2 separate regions of the Homo sapiens genome follow, and region 1 is linked to region 2. The links are contacts of gene promoters, found by promoter capture Hi-C in blood cells and fetal thymus (Javierre and others, 2016). All regions are on one chromosome and are shown on one strand. The core of a region is centred on a gene start or on the middle of the fragment in contact, and the rest is flanking DNA. Distances in the headings are between cores, read along the strand shown. Region 1 overlaps LOC100996549 (a long non-coding RNA gene). Region 2 holds the start of IAH1 (isoamyl acetate hydrolyzing esterase 1 (putative)).

What was found. The method cuts DNA at HindIII sites, captures the fragments that hold promoters and counts their contacts. A CHiCAGO score of 5 or more calls a contact.
Region 1: a fragment that was not itself captured here is called in contact with the fragment with the promoter of IAH1 in region 2 in 1 of 17 cell types (activated CD4 T cells); the score reaches 5.4 in activated CD4 T cells.

Annotation. Positions count from the first base shown.
Region 1 is chr2:9,759,725-9,766,086 of GRCh38, forward strand. The region is part of intron 2 of LOC100996549 (a long non-coding RNA gene); the gene reads right to left. Among named protein-coding and RNA genes, the nearest start is that of TAF1B, 81 kb to the right of the region's middle. RefSeq lists enhancers at 3,936-4,230, 6,049-6,362. The HindIII fragment of the contact is 1,223 bases long and covers 901-2,123 here.
Region 2 is chr2:9,470,910-9,477,532 of GRCh38, forward strand. It overlaps IAH1 (isoamyl acetate hydrolyzing esterase 1 (putative)), which reads left to right and starts at 3,642. Exons shown (of 6, transcript NM_001039613.3): 1 at 3,642-3,738; 2 at 5,078-5,130. The coding sequence starts at 3,658. It overlaps CPSF3 (cleavage and polyadenylation specific factor 3), which reads left to right. Exons shown (of 18, transcript NM_016207.4): 17 at 434-530; 18 at 2,007-2,192. The coding sequence ends at 2,108. RefSeq lists a silencer at 3,414-4,183 and enhancers at 3,453-4,220, 4,701-5,261. The HindIII fragment of the contact is 7,765 bases long and covers 1-6,623 here.

The DNA.
Region 1 (6,362 bases), core at 262-2,761, 290 kb after region 2:
TATTCTAGGGGGTTCTTTACATCCACAGAGGTTTTGAAACCCAGGAGCATGCCTTCCGGAGCACTTAAATTGCATTTGATGTTTAATGACTCTTATTTACTTATCACAAATACAATTTTTAGTGATACGAGAGCCAAGTCACAAAGACTAGATTAAACATTACTCTCTTCTGTTGCATTGGCTTCTCTACATCATGGTAACAGGTTGTCAGGTTCAACTGCAGCATTGCTGTTAGAGGCAAAGGTAGGCAGGAAGCTCATTCTTGCAATCCCTAGAACTTTAGTAAAAACTCAAAGATATCTATTTTTCTAACCAGATACTATTAGCTTTATTTTGCATCCATTCATTTACTGAAGCCTACATGTGTTTCAGTAACTATGCTAAAAGATTCTGTTTGTCCCTATTTAAGGGCACTCTTAGTTCAGTGGGAGTTGGTGGCAGTGGCAGATATGTACAGTTACAAGGTGATGCAATGACAGTGACAGGCAGAGGGAGGTCTGGGAGCACAGAGGGGAGGCACCTAATCCAGCCTGGTTATATCAGGGAGGGCTTCTTGGAGGAGGTGACATCTGAGTTTCTCAAAGGAGAAGGTAGCCAAGGGAAGGAAAAGAAGATGCAGGAAGTAGAGAGAGGCTGTTGAAGGAACTGGGGCACGGGAGCATTGGGTACTCAAACAAGGAGTGGTTTGCGGAGACGGACCTTAGGGAACACAGTGGATGTGGGAAAAGCTCAGCCCAGCCCTCTGTCATGGGTTTTGTATGCTGAGCCACTGGGAGACTTAAAAAAAGAAGACCTTTTATAAAGAGCAGTTTTAGGTTTACAGCAAAATTGAGCAGAAGGTACAGAGAGTTCCCATAGAGCCCCTGCCCCCACCAGAGTTGTACATTTGTTACAATAATAAGCTTGCATTGACACATCATGTTCATCCCACTGGAAGATTCTGAGCAGGGAAAACATTTTCACATTACCTTTTACAAAGTCTTCTTCCTGGCACTGAGTCACAGTCGTTTTTAAACAATTAATGGTGTAGGTTGCTACTTAGCATTTCCCCAGAGCAAATGTTTCTATGATCTCCAAAAGACAGAGGATATGATGTCTTCTTGCCCCACCCTGTAGATCTGTAAACCTAGAACAATGGCTGGTCATAGCAGATGCTTAGAAAGTAGAGGAGGGTAGAGGCGGGAGGAAAGCAGGGGTAGAAAGAAGGACTAGAGGAGGGTAGAGGCGGGAGGAAAGCAGGGGTAGAAAGAGGGAGTAGAGGAGGGTAGAGGCGGGAGGAAAGCAGGGGTAGAGAGAGGGAGGGAGAAAGATAGCCACAAGGTCTCTTGTGTATTTCAGAAACATCATTCTGGCAGCAAACAGAGGAAAGATGGCAGAGGGTGTGGCTTGTGGTCAGGGACAGTTAGGAGACTACTGTCATGCTCCAGGTGCAAAGCGCAAGTGGTCTGAGTAGGTGGCCGCGGTGGAGAGAAGGGGACATCGAAAAGGTGGGATCTACCCCACCAGGTGCCTGAGGGTGTGAGTGCAGTAGAAAACCACTGGGAAGTTTTCAAGGCCCAGGCCCAGCTCTCAGTCTTCTCTGAACCATCGAACTAGAGGGAGAGTTTGTAAGGACTCCAAAGGGAAAGAGAACACGGGAGGGAAGGAGGGTTGGGGAGGGTCAGGTAGGATGCTTAAGGTGGATTGAGTTTGAAATATACAAGCTAAGAAAAATGTCAGATGGTTCTTGTTTATTGTCTAAAGAGTAGAGGGGAGAAAAACAGAAAACAGACGTTTATGTTGTTGAGTGTTAGACAAAAGGCCCCACGTCCCCTGCTTCTGAGTGAGAATGACGATGTGCTGTAGGATGACAGGGCCCTTTGGAGGTTCTGTCTGCAAGATAATCTGTTTGCAGATGAGCTCCAGGCACGGGGAAGGTGCGTGGTGTCAGTGTGGCTTGCTGAACTCACAGCAAGCCATTTCAGGGATGCTGGGACGGAAGCCGCCCTCCCTTTCCTGCCTCTGCTTCCAAGTTCTTTCTCTGCAGCCCTGTCAACGCGCCGCCTTTGCTTCATAGCACATCTCCTAATGGGCTCTGGCGGTGCTGAGGCAGCCTTCATATTCCATTTGTTCCTTGGATAATAAGCTTAGCCTCGAAGCCAAAAGAGAAAGCCCTGATGACTATTAAATACACATGCACGGGGCTGACTGCTCCCCAAAACCCCCAGCTGGACATCGCACCAGCTCAGCAAGGCCATTTGCATCCAGGCAAATGGCCCTCAGTGACTAATAGAAATCCACCTCTATCTTGGCAAGGAAGGCCTTCAGCATGCAGCATTAATTTGGTTTGCACAGTGGGATGGAACACATCTTTAGTTCCTTTTAGGGAACTGACTTACGCTTTCTCCAAAGGGTGCTTCCTGGGGGCTCCCAGACATTGGAAGTGCTGGGTGTAACTCGTCTCAGGGGCTCCCTAGTCCCAAGCACAATCTGCCTTATTTTTTTTTTCCAGTTTTACCGCTCAGAGAGGATTGTGATGACGAGGTCACCTGGATCCTAATAACGCTTCAAGTCATCATTAGGGATTGATGCATTTGGCCTGGCATGGACAGCACCGCTGCAGCTCACAGCCAGAATGATTCTGTCTGGCTTCCCCCTCCACACCAGAAGTCTGGAAATGCAGCCTGTTCTTTTCCATTTGGAGTCCCGGGATCTGGGTTATTATTGCCAAAGGCAAAGGAATGAGTTTCTAGAATTATAACTTGGAGGAGCAATGCACCAGGGAGTAAACCTAGGAAGTTTCCAGAAAGCTAGAAGGTGATTATCTCCACAGTGTACTCTGAATGTGAAAACCCAACTAACAGAACATTCAGACGTAAGTGCAGGACTCCTCAGCCTGTCTCCACCAGGACTTTTAGTCAGTCTAGGAGGGCAAGAAAGATCACTTCAATTTTAGGATCTTACTGCACTCTTGGGGCAAAAATAAGCCTGTGGCCTTCGGGGGTCTCCAAGACACCTGCTCAATAAGGATGTTTAGTCTCAACCTCCAGAATGAACTAGGCTCAATTCAAATAAAATTGGTGAGGACCCACTAGTGCCGGGTGGGAGGTGACTAAGGTGGGTACAGGGGAAGGGATGTCCTCAGTCCTATGGTCATGGGCTTGCTGGCTGGGCCCTCACCCCAGAGAGCAGTCGCCCAGGGGCTGCAGCACCAGAAGGCCTTCCCCACTGTTAAAGCCTAAGGCCTTGTCCGGGAAGACTAAGGCCTGGAGGAAATCACCTGGCGAAGAACTGGGACTAAAGGGCTGTGCTTTGTGCCAGGATCAGGCATTTTCCAGGTTTTCTGAGCAGATCGTGTGGTACATGGGCAGGGCCAGCACATACGGTTGTGCATGTTGTCCACTGTGCAAGGACATCCAGCTGAAAGGTGAGCGAGGGCTAGATTCCAGCATGCCTGCCGCTCACCACACTGTGTGCCCATGGTGTTGCGTCTGTCCAGAAGGGGCATCCTTCTCTAAGTCACACAGACAGACCCTGTGGGCTCGCTAGGGCCCTGGACATGAGGAGAATGAAACACCCCAGGGAAGGGGTCAGCGAGATTTGGCTGAGCAGCACAGGGCTGCAGACAGGATGGAAAATACTCCCTTTACCACACTGGCTGCCTTGCCTTTGGTGCTTTGGAAGGGAATTGCAGGAATTAATAACCAAACTCACTCTATTCCATTCCTAGCACCTTGTACACATTCATGGCCATGTTAACTCTACCTATGCCTCCTCCTGGGCTTGCGTGCAGTTATTCCCAGCGAATCCCTGCAGGTGCTGTAAGAGACAGATCTCTGCACAGGCGGCTCGTCCTGCCAGCTGGAGTCAAGGTTATCTCATCCAGGCTGGCCAAAACCCATAAGCAGCCCTCTTTCAGAATTCTGCCTGCTGTGCTACCTAAATATAGTTCATGTTACCTGTCTTTTAAAAATATTTCTAGCCTCTCTTTTTTCCCCTGTATATTCATGATTTAATTTTGTATGCCACTTTTTTCCGTTGCTACATGCTAAGCATTTTCCATAGTGCCACGTCATTTCCACACTGCCCTGTGTCATTATGGCTGTATTATCGCCAGCTAAGCAGGGCTCTGTAGTCTGACTAATCATTATCAAATGGTTTACTTAGCAGACACATGTCCCCCTGGTAGGAAATGTTAAGTGAGGGGTAGAAGATCTCTCCTCAACTCTGTTCTATTCAACATTTTTGCTGATAGCCAAGATGAAGGTGTAGCATGCAGACCACTCAACAAATTGGCAAAAGACACAGAACTGGAAAGGGTAATACATTGTTTGGACAAAGTAATCAAGATTCAAGATTGCCCAGCAATGCTTCCCTGGAAGCTTCTTCTTACCTACCCCTGTCTGCATAGGGTTTTGTCAGAAAACATTTTAAATGGTCCACTTTCAAGGCATGATAAATCTAAGCACTGGCAGCCAGCCCGTGAATGTAACAAATGGCACAGCTCATGCACCTGGAAGGTCTTGATAAACAAACAGAATGTAGAAGAGGGGTCAGCCCATAAAAGGGAAGAAAGTTCTATTATTGGGAAATTGAAACTTAAGAGGGGAAGAGGACAGGGTATAACCTTATAAGGGGGATAATGGCACTTAGGCAACATCCAGGAAGATTGTCACCCCACAGTACTCAACCATGAGGAACTGGGGGAGGGACTTGTGTGCTAGGAGATAAATTACCTGCTGTAGCTGCCCCAGATGTGCCTGCCTACTGGCCACCCGATCTTGCAAGACCTCTATTAAAAGTCTCACTTTTGCTGTTCTTTGTCCTCTGAGTCCATTGTTTGGGTTTGCACAGATGAGCGTGTTTCTCCCAGTTTTACTCAGCAGCCACAACCACAGCAGGTGGCTCATTGGTGCAAGGTGGGCAAGAGACCCGAACTGGGCCAGAGAACCTTCCTGATGATTTTGGAATTGGGGCTTACAGATTCCAGGCGTCTCCAGGTGGCTTGAGCATAGCACATCAGCTACGGAGACACTGTGGCTGTGTTTTGTCTTGTGACCCCGAAGTGGAGGAGGCTGGCTGGGAGACAGACTCAGCGAGAAGGAAGGTGCAGAGAAAAGCAAGAGAAAAGAGAGGCAACTAGAACCCTGCTTCATTTGTTCCTGAAGCCCAGTCACATTTCTGCCCCCTTATTCAGAAAGTCCATATCATGAGAATACAATCCCTCAGCCTGGCATCTGTGTTCATTGCAGCTGAGAAGGTCCCAGTGAAGCCAGCAGACAGAAGATCTGCAGTCTTGGTCTCCAGTTGACTCAAAGTTCAACAGAGTCAACAGGCTGCAGAAGAATCAAGCCCCAAATTGGGGGAAAGACCACATTTGGAGGGTGACAGTTTTGGTGTGACCTCAGCAAACAGTAGGATGCCTGAAGAAGTCCCCTGGACAGTAAAATCAGGCTCTACACTCAAGGGCTGAAAGAATTAGATAAATTTTGGCAGAAGAAGGGAAGAAGATTTGGCAGAAAGACACATTTGTCATATAGGGTGTGGAGAACCAAGGTCAGAACTAGGACAAACAAATGAAAGATGCCTGAATGCAAATTTTGGCAAGTTTTTTTCTAGCAGGTATCTGCTAGTGGATGGGGTTTCCTGGGAAGAGGCAGCCAACAGGCAGGAGTTTTAGCAGAGGCTGGGTGGCCGCACGTTGGGTAGGTGAACCTCCTGAACAGAGGTGGTTGGACACATCCAACCCCAGCCCATGGTTCTGGGGTTGGTGTGAAGTGGCATTTTCCCTATCTTCTGTAGACTGAGAAGTGACCCTCTAACAGATGTTTCAGAAATCCCAGGAGTAGAACGTTTGCCTTGAACTCCTCCTCCCAAGCAGTCCCTCATTTAGGAAATCACCCCAATGGAAGCAGCAAAGGAAGCTTTCTCTGAGTGAAGGGCAGTGCCCACAGTGGCCTGCCAAGAGTATGTGGCCCTCCCTGACTGTCCCTACCTCTGGTGGGAACCTAGAGGGGGCGGGAGGACATATGAGTAAGTGCACCCCCTAAAGGACACAGGGGCTGTTGCCTTGCAGAGGGTCACATGCTGGGCTTGCCTGGCGAACTGGAATCTCTCAATTCAAAGTCCACAGGCAGACAGGGAAGTAATTTCCTAGAAATTAAGTCTGAACACTACAGAGCCTCTCCTCAAAGAGTGAATATGGGCCGGCAGCTGGGGCACACGGGGGCCTTGTGTGTGCATGTGTAAGGGTGTGTACTGTTACGTGTGTGCACATCCTCACACACGTATACACCCTCACACATGTACATATGCTTATGTGTGCACATACCCTCACATCTGTACACACACACCTGCCTCTACACACCCACATGCACACACGC
Region 2 (6,623 bases), core at 2,392-4,891:
GCTTGTCTCAAAAGTAAATACAGGCTGGGCATGGTGACTCCTGCCTGTAATCCCAACACTTTGGGAGGCCAAGGCAGGTGGATCACTTGAGGCTAGGAGTTCAAGACCAGCCTGGCCAACATGGTGAAACCCTGACTCTACTAAAAATACAAAAATTAGCTGGCTGTGGTGGTGCACACCTGTAATCCCAGCTACTAGGGAGGCTGAGGCAGGAGAATCACTTGAATCCGGGAGGCGGAGGTTGTAGTGAGCCAAGATTGTGCCACTGCGCTCCAGCCTGGGCCACAGAGCAAGACTCCATCTCAAAAAAAAAAAGAAAAAAAGTAAATACAGTATTCTGCTTTAGAACTAGGACCTATCTTCAGTTTTATTTTTTCCTCAAATATATAAAGCCGGGCATTTTCACTAATCCTGCATTTCTGCTTATTTTCAGGGACATATTTGGAGAAGACTGTGTAAGTGTAAAGGATGACTCTATTCTTAGCGTCACAGTGGACGGGAAAACTGCCAACCTTAACTTGGAGACACGGGTATGTAGCTGCTCTTTCCTACGTTTCAAGACATTTGGGAAATAAAGTGAAGGCATAAATAATCTGTGCTCTCACACTCAACAGTCTACTGTTGCATATTGGCATTTGCTTCCAGTGTTTCCAACATTTTTTTCACATTGTTCTTTTTATATTATTATGGTTGAAGTTTTCCGTGTTTTTCCGGGTTACTGCATAGTACAAGGTTCGCGTGTATGCCACTCCATTGCTGTCCTCTTCCATAATACAGCTTAGTTCACCTCATCCCTTCTCTAGTTTGGCATCTAGTTGACTCTCCATTTTTTAAAGAAGCCGCTCTTCTGTTTGCACCAGCAAGATCCAAGTGGATTTTCCAAACAGTTCAAAACCAGCCCGGGCAACACAGTTAAACCCCATCTCTACTAAAAAATACAAAAAAAATTAGCCGGGAATGGCGGCAGCTGCCTGTAGTCCCAGCTACTCAGGAGGCTGAGGCAGGAGAATTGCTTGAAACAGGGAGGCAGAGGTTGCAGTGAGCCAAGATCACATTACTGCACTCCAGCCTGGATGATAGAGCGAGACTCTGTCTCCAAAAAAAAAAAAAAAAAGAACTAGAGGCCAGGCGTGGTGGTTCACGCCTGTAATCCCAACACTTTGGGAGGTCAAGGTGGGTGGATCATCTGAGGTCAAGAGTTTGAGACCAGCCTGGCCAACATGATGAAACCCCATCTCTACTAAAAATACAAAAATTACCCAGGCGTGGTGGTGTGCCTGTAATCCCAGCTACTTGGGAGGCTAAGGCAGGAGAACCCAGGAATCACCTTAACCCAAGAGACAGAGGTTGCAGTGAGCTGAGATCACATCACTGCACTCCAGCCTGGGCGACAGAGCGAGATTCTGTCTCAAAAAAAAAAAAAAAAAGAAGCAACTAGAAGATTATTAGTGAGTTTCAGTCAAATTCAGTACCAAATGTTGAGTAGATAGCCACATCCATTCCTTGCCAAGTAATTTGTGTGGCATAGATGAACTTCCCTGGAGTATCATTTACTAGATCAAACTGTGGGCTTTGATGTAAATGTAGTTTACTAGACTTTCCCCAGTCTTTCACCCCAGCCTCAAGTCATCACTAATTAGGACCGTGCTGCTGTCAGGAAGCACTGCACGCCCACAAGTGTGTAGGGCGGCCGTTCTGTTTCATGGTAATCAGTCCCACCATGACCTCTGCACACACAGATGATTGTTCTTTTTTTTAGTTTGAGACCCGGTCTCGCAGTGCCGCCCAGGCTGGAGTGCAGTGGTGCAGTCACAGCTCACTGCAGCCTCAACCTTCCCGGCTCAGTGATCCTCCCACCTCAGACTCTTATCTGGGACCACAGGCACACGCCACCACAGCTGGCTAATTTTTTATGAGATGATGGTTTTTTTAAAGAGTATTCATTTATCTTCTATATAATCATTATAGACTTAATTCTAACAGTCTTGTTTGTGCCTCACTTTCAGACTGTAGAATGTGAAGAGGGAAGTGAAGACGATGAATCCCTCCGAGAAATGGTGGAGCTGGCTGCACAGAGACTGTACGAGGCCCTGACGCCAGTTCACTGAGACTGTGCCTGTATATGAACTTTGAAAAAATACTTGACTCTACTTTTGTTACCTAAAATAAAATGCATTCGTTTCTCTGGGGGAGCCTGTTTACTTTTAATGTCAAATGGCCTTTATTTCAACAGCCTGAATACTGCTAAATTGCTAATTAATTTGTCCATTATTCTAGAACTAACTACTAGATCAACTGCCCATTATTTTAGAATTTTGGATTCTTCTTCCAGGCATGTATGTGCAGCTCCCATTGAAACCATCAAGATCTGCCGATAGCAACCGCTGCTGGTTACCCTCTCCTCTGGGGTAACCAATTTGAGTTAATAATAAGGATTCTAAGTTGCACTTGAATCTTTTCTGTCTTCATCTCCACTGCTGCTGTTCGAGTCCAAGTCTACTCTCCCCTCTGAATTCCTGCAACCACCTCCATCTCCTCCCCTATAGCTGATTCCTGGAACAGACCTGGCCTCAAGCCTCTGCTGCTTGAAGGCCTTAATGAAGTCCTTGTGATAAAGATGAAGTCCAGGCACCTTTGCTTGCTCTAGCAGGGGCTCTCAATCTGGGCTACCCGTGGGAATCACGTGGGGTGCATCACAAGTGCACCTGTGCCCAAGTCCTGCCACCAGGAGGTGAGTTAGTCCGGCTGGAATGAGGGCCCTAGGTTGGATCTTAGTTGTAAAGCTCCCCCAGGTGATCCAAGCGAGCTTGGGACGAGCAACCTAAAGAAAGTCATGCTCTACGCCCATCGCCCCGCCCCAGGGAGCGGGGTCGGCCTCTGCGCCGGCGCCCCTGGCCCTTCTGTTACTCATCTACAGCTCCGTGATTTCAAGGCATCCTTCCCACCCGTTCGTTTTTAGCTCGGCTGCCGAACTTCATTGCACAGTTGAGGTAAGAACGTTGCATTACAACCACGTTTTAACAGGTGAATCCCTTGGAAGTTAGTCAGTGCTCCGTGTCCGCGGGGTTCTGCATCTGCGCATCCACCCCACGGCGGGAAAAAGAAAAGCGGCCGGCTGCGCGCGCACTGAAGGTGCAGCTGCTTTCCCTTGTCATTCGCAGAACCACGAGGTACTGCCAGGGTTTCCGCAGTGCCTGCGTCCTCGTGGGTGTTACAGGCCCTCCAGAGTGACGCTGGGCGCAGGAGGCCGCGCGCGCATCCCACGACCTCTTCCAGGGGGGCCTGGAGCAGCCCTCCGCCCCACCGAGAGCCAGCTGTGCTTCCCGCCGCGCGTCCTGAGGTCACACTCCTGCCCTTTGCCGAACGCACCTGCGCCCGCGGAGCGCGGGGTGGGCTTAGAAGGGCCCCCAACCGCTTTTCTTCCGGGAACCACGCAGCGGGACGCGGGCTCCGGACTCCCTGGGGGCAGCCTTGCTGTGGGTGAGCAAGCGCGGAGGCCGAGCTTCTTGCAAACGGACTCCAAGGGGCAACGACCTTCGCGCGTCACCAAAGTGACTGCGTGGGTGCCCACGAGCCCGGCTCCCGCAACCCACGGGCGGCCACTGCGCAGGCGCCTCTCGTGGCTGGCGGCCCCGCCCCGCCCCGCCCGGCTGCTCCATGGCGCTGTGCGAGGCCGCGGGCTGCGGGAGTGCCCTGCTCTGGCCTCGCTTGTTGCTCTTCGGGGACTCCATCACCCAGGTACGGCCGCCCCGACGCTCGGCCTCCCGCCCCGGCCTCCCTGCGGGGTCGCTGCCGAGCAGGCCGAGGCTCCTCGCCGTCCTCTTCGGCGCCCGAGACGGCTGGGCCGGAGGCCTGGCCACGCCCGTGGAGACACCGGAGGAGTGGCGGGTCCCCCAGTGGCTGCGCCTTCCGGGCCCGCGGCGTCCCGGAGGTCACGACGGCGTCCGCGAGAGCCCGGGCTCCAGGCACAGACGCGAGGGGACCCGGCCGCGCTGCCCGCCCCGCGCCGCCTCCCACCCGGGTCGAGATGCGCGGTCTTCCCCTCAGCGCCCTCCTGGGCAGCGGCCTTTCCCCTCCGGGTCCGGGTTAGCGGCCGCGGGCGACCGCGCGCTGTGTCCCAGGAGGCCCCGCGGCCAGCTCCGGGCAGAGGCGCCAGGAGCTCTCTCGCCCCATTCCCTGCGGGCACAGGTGGGGCCGTTAGGGGTTGACCTTGGAAGTAAAACGCCTTCAGGAATTAGGTAGAAAAGGACCATCCGTTCATCCAAGATCATCTCACCTCCCATGAAGGGAACGGTCTTCTAAATGCAGGTTCTTACTTCGGGGAGGGAGTAGAAATTCCATTCCTGTGTGTGTCCTCTTCTCAGACAGGACTTGCTTCACCAGGCTTTTGTGTATACGCCAGTAACTGGTAACATTATGTTTAGGCATATGGGGCAGTCAGAGCTGCCGAATTCCATGGGAATGTGTATGAAAAAGTGTTCACCCTCAGCTCGGTAACCAGCAAAGCAGTGAGGCGGTGTGGCCTTCATTTCCTCACTGACCTTTGACTTTATTTCCTGAACTTAGATTTCTGTTTAGCTTTTTTTTTTTTTTCTTTTTTTCTTTTTTTGAGACGGAGTCTCGCTCTGTCGCCCAGACTGGAGTGCAGTAGCGCGATCTCGGCTCACTGCAAGCTCCGCCTCCCGGATTCAAGCGTTTCTCCTGCCTCAGCCTCCCGAGTAGCTGGGATTATAGACGTGCGCCACCACACCGGGCTAATTTTTGTAATTTTAGTAGAGACGGGGTTTCGCCATGTTGACCAGGCTGGTCTCGAACTCGAGACCTCATGTGATCCGCCCGCCTTGGCCTCCCAAAGTGCTGGGAATACAGGCTGTTTAGCTTTTGATAGAGAAAAATCCCCCTCTGCTAAAGTGCTGCCAGGTGTACTTACCTGTAATCCCCAAAATGACCTCCTGGAGTGAAGCAATCAAAGCCAAGAAGGGAGCGCCGAGAAAACAGAAGTTGCCAATCAGAACTGCCCTCGCTGAGATGCCCGGTTACAGTCATTAGTAGTAATAATGGGCTTTTCTTCCTCCAGTTTTCCTTCCAGCAGGGTGGATGGGGAGCATCGCTGGCTGACAGGCTGGTCAGGTGAGAATGGTTTCCGATACTTGAGTTCTTATGGATGGAAAATGTCTTAGGGATCCGTCTTATGGATGAAGGATAGTTCTGAACAGAACATTCCTCCTTTATTAATTTTGCTTGCCTCCCCTAATCAGTATATAGGAGAAGGAACAGAAAACATTTACTCTTCACTCAGTCTGACCAATTAGATATTTTAGGGTTGAGCACTGATGGCTGGGTAGACTCAGACAAATCAAGGAAATGGCCAAGGCCTCTTCCCTAGTCAGGGGCAGACAGATCCAAGTCCAGCTGCTATGACTGCAGAACTTGCAGTTTCACTGCTACACCACACTGGTAGGAAGCTACTTTGCCTTTTTTTGAAGTGCTGCCATGACTTAAGACTCACCTTGTCACAATTCTACCGCACTTTGTTTTGGTTTTTGGTGGTTTTTGTTTTGCGACAGGGTCTCTTGTTAGGCGCGTCCACGTGAAGAGACCACCAAACAGGCTTTGTGTGAGCAACAAGGCTGTTTATTCACTTGGGTGCAAGTGGGCTGAGTCTGAAAAGAGCAAAGGGAGATGGGTAGGGCAGTACTATAGGATTTGGGTAGGTAGTGGAAAATTACAGTTAAAGGTGGTTATCTATTGTTAGCAGGGGAAGGGGGTCACAAGGTGCTCTGTGGGGAGCTCCTGAGACTCATTGTCCAGGGGAGGAATGCCACAAGGTCGATTGATTAGTTAGGGTGGGGCAGGAACAAATCACAATGGTGGAATGTCATCAGTTAAGGCAGGAACTGGCTGTTTCACTCCTTTTGTGGTTCTTCAGTTGCTCCAGGCCACCTGGATGTATACGTGCAGGTAACAGGTTATGACGGCTTAGCTTGGGCTCAGAGGCCTGACAACTCTGTCACACAGGCTTGAGTGCAGCAGTGTGATCAGGGCTCACTGCAGCCTCCACCTCTGGGGCTGAAGGCATCATCACCTCAGCCTCCTGAGTAGCTGGGACCAACAGGCACTCGCTACCACACCCAGCCCAGCACTTCATTAAAGTATTGTGATTTCACTCTGTAAAATGGCTAGTCGCATTTTATAATCATTACACACACAAACAATCTCTTAGAAATAAGGCTGAGTTTCGGTGGTGGTTCTGCAGTTTATAAATGCCACCTGAGAACTTTGAGCAGTGTCAGAAAGTGTCCCCTTGTGCTGCTTTGGAGCCGCTGCCTGACGCTGTGGCCTGCAGTTCTCCGCGGGTGCCCCAGCTTCTCTGCTTGGTTATGCATGTATGGGAATGTGAATACAGCAAAATGAACCATATTGATTTACTAATCATAAGTTGAACCCCAGGCGTCATTTTAAGAAAACTTTATGGACAACTTTAAATATCTACAGAAGCAAAGAGTGAAATGAGCCCATCCATCCCTCCTATGGATTATTCTGAAGCAAATCCCAAATCATATCATTTTACCAAGACTAAGAAAAAAAGAGTCCCTCTTATGTGACTGGTATTCTCTGAGGGG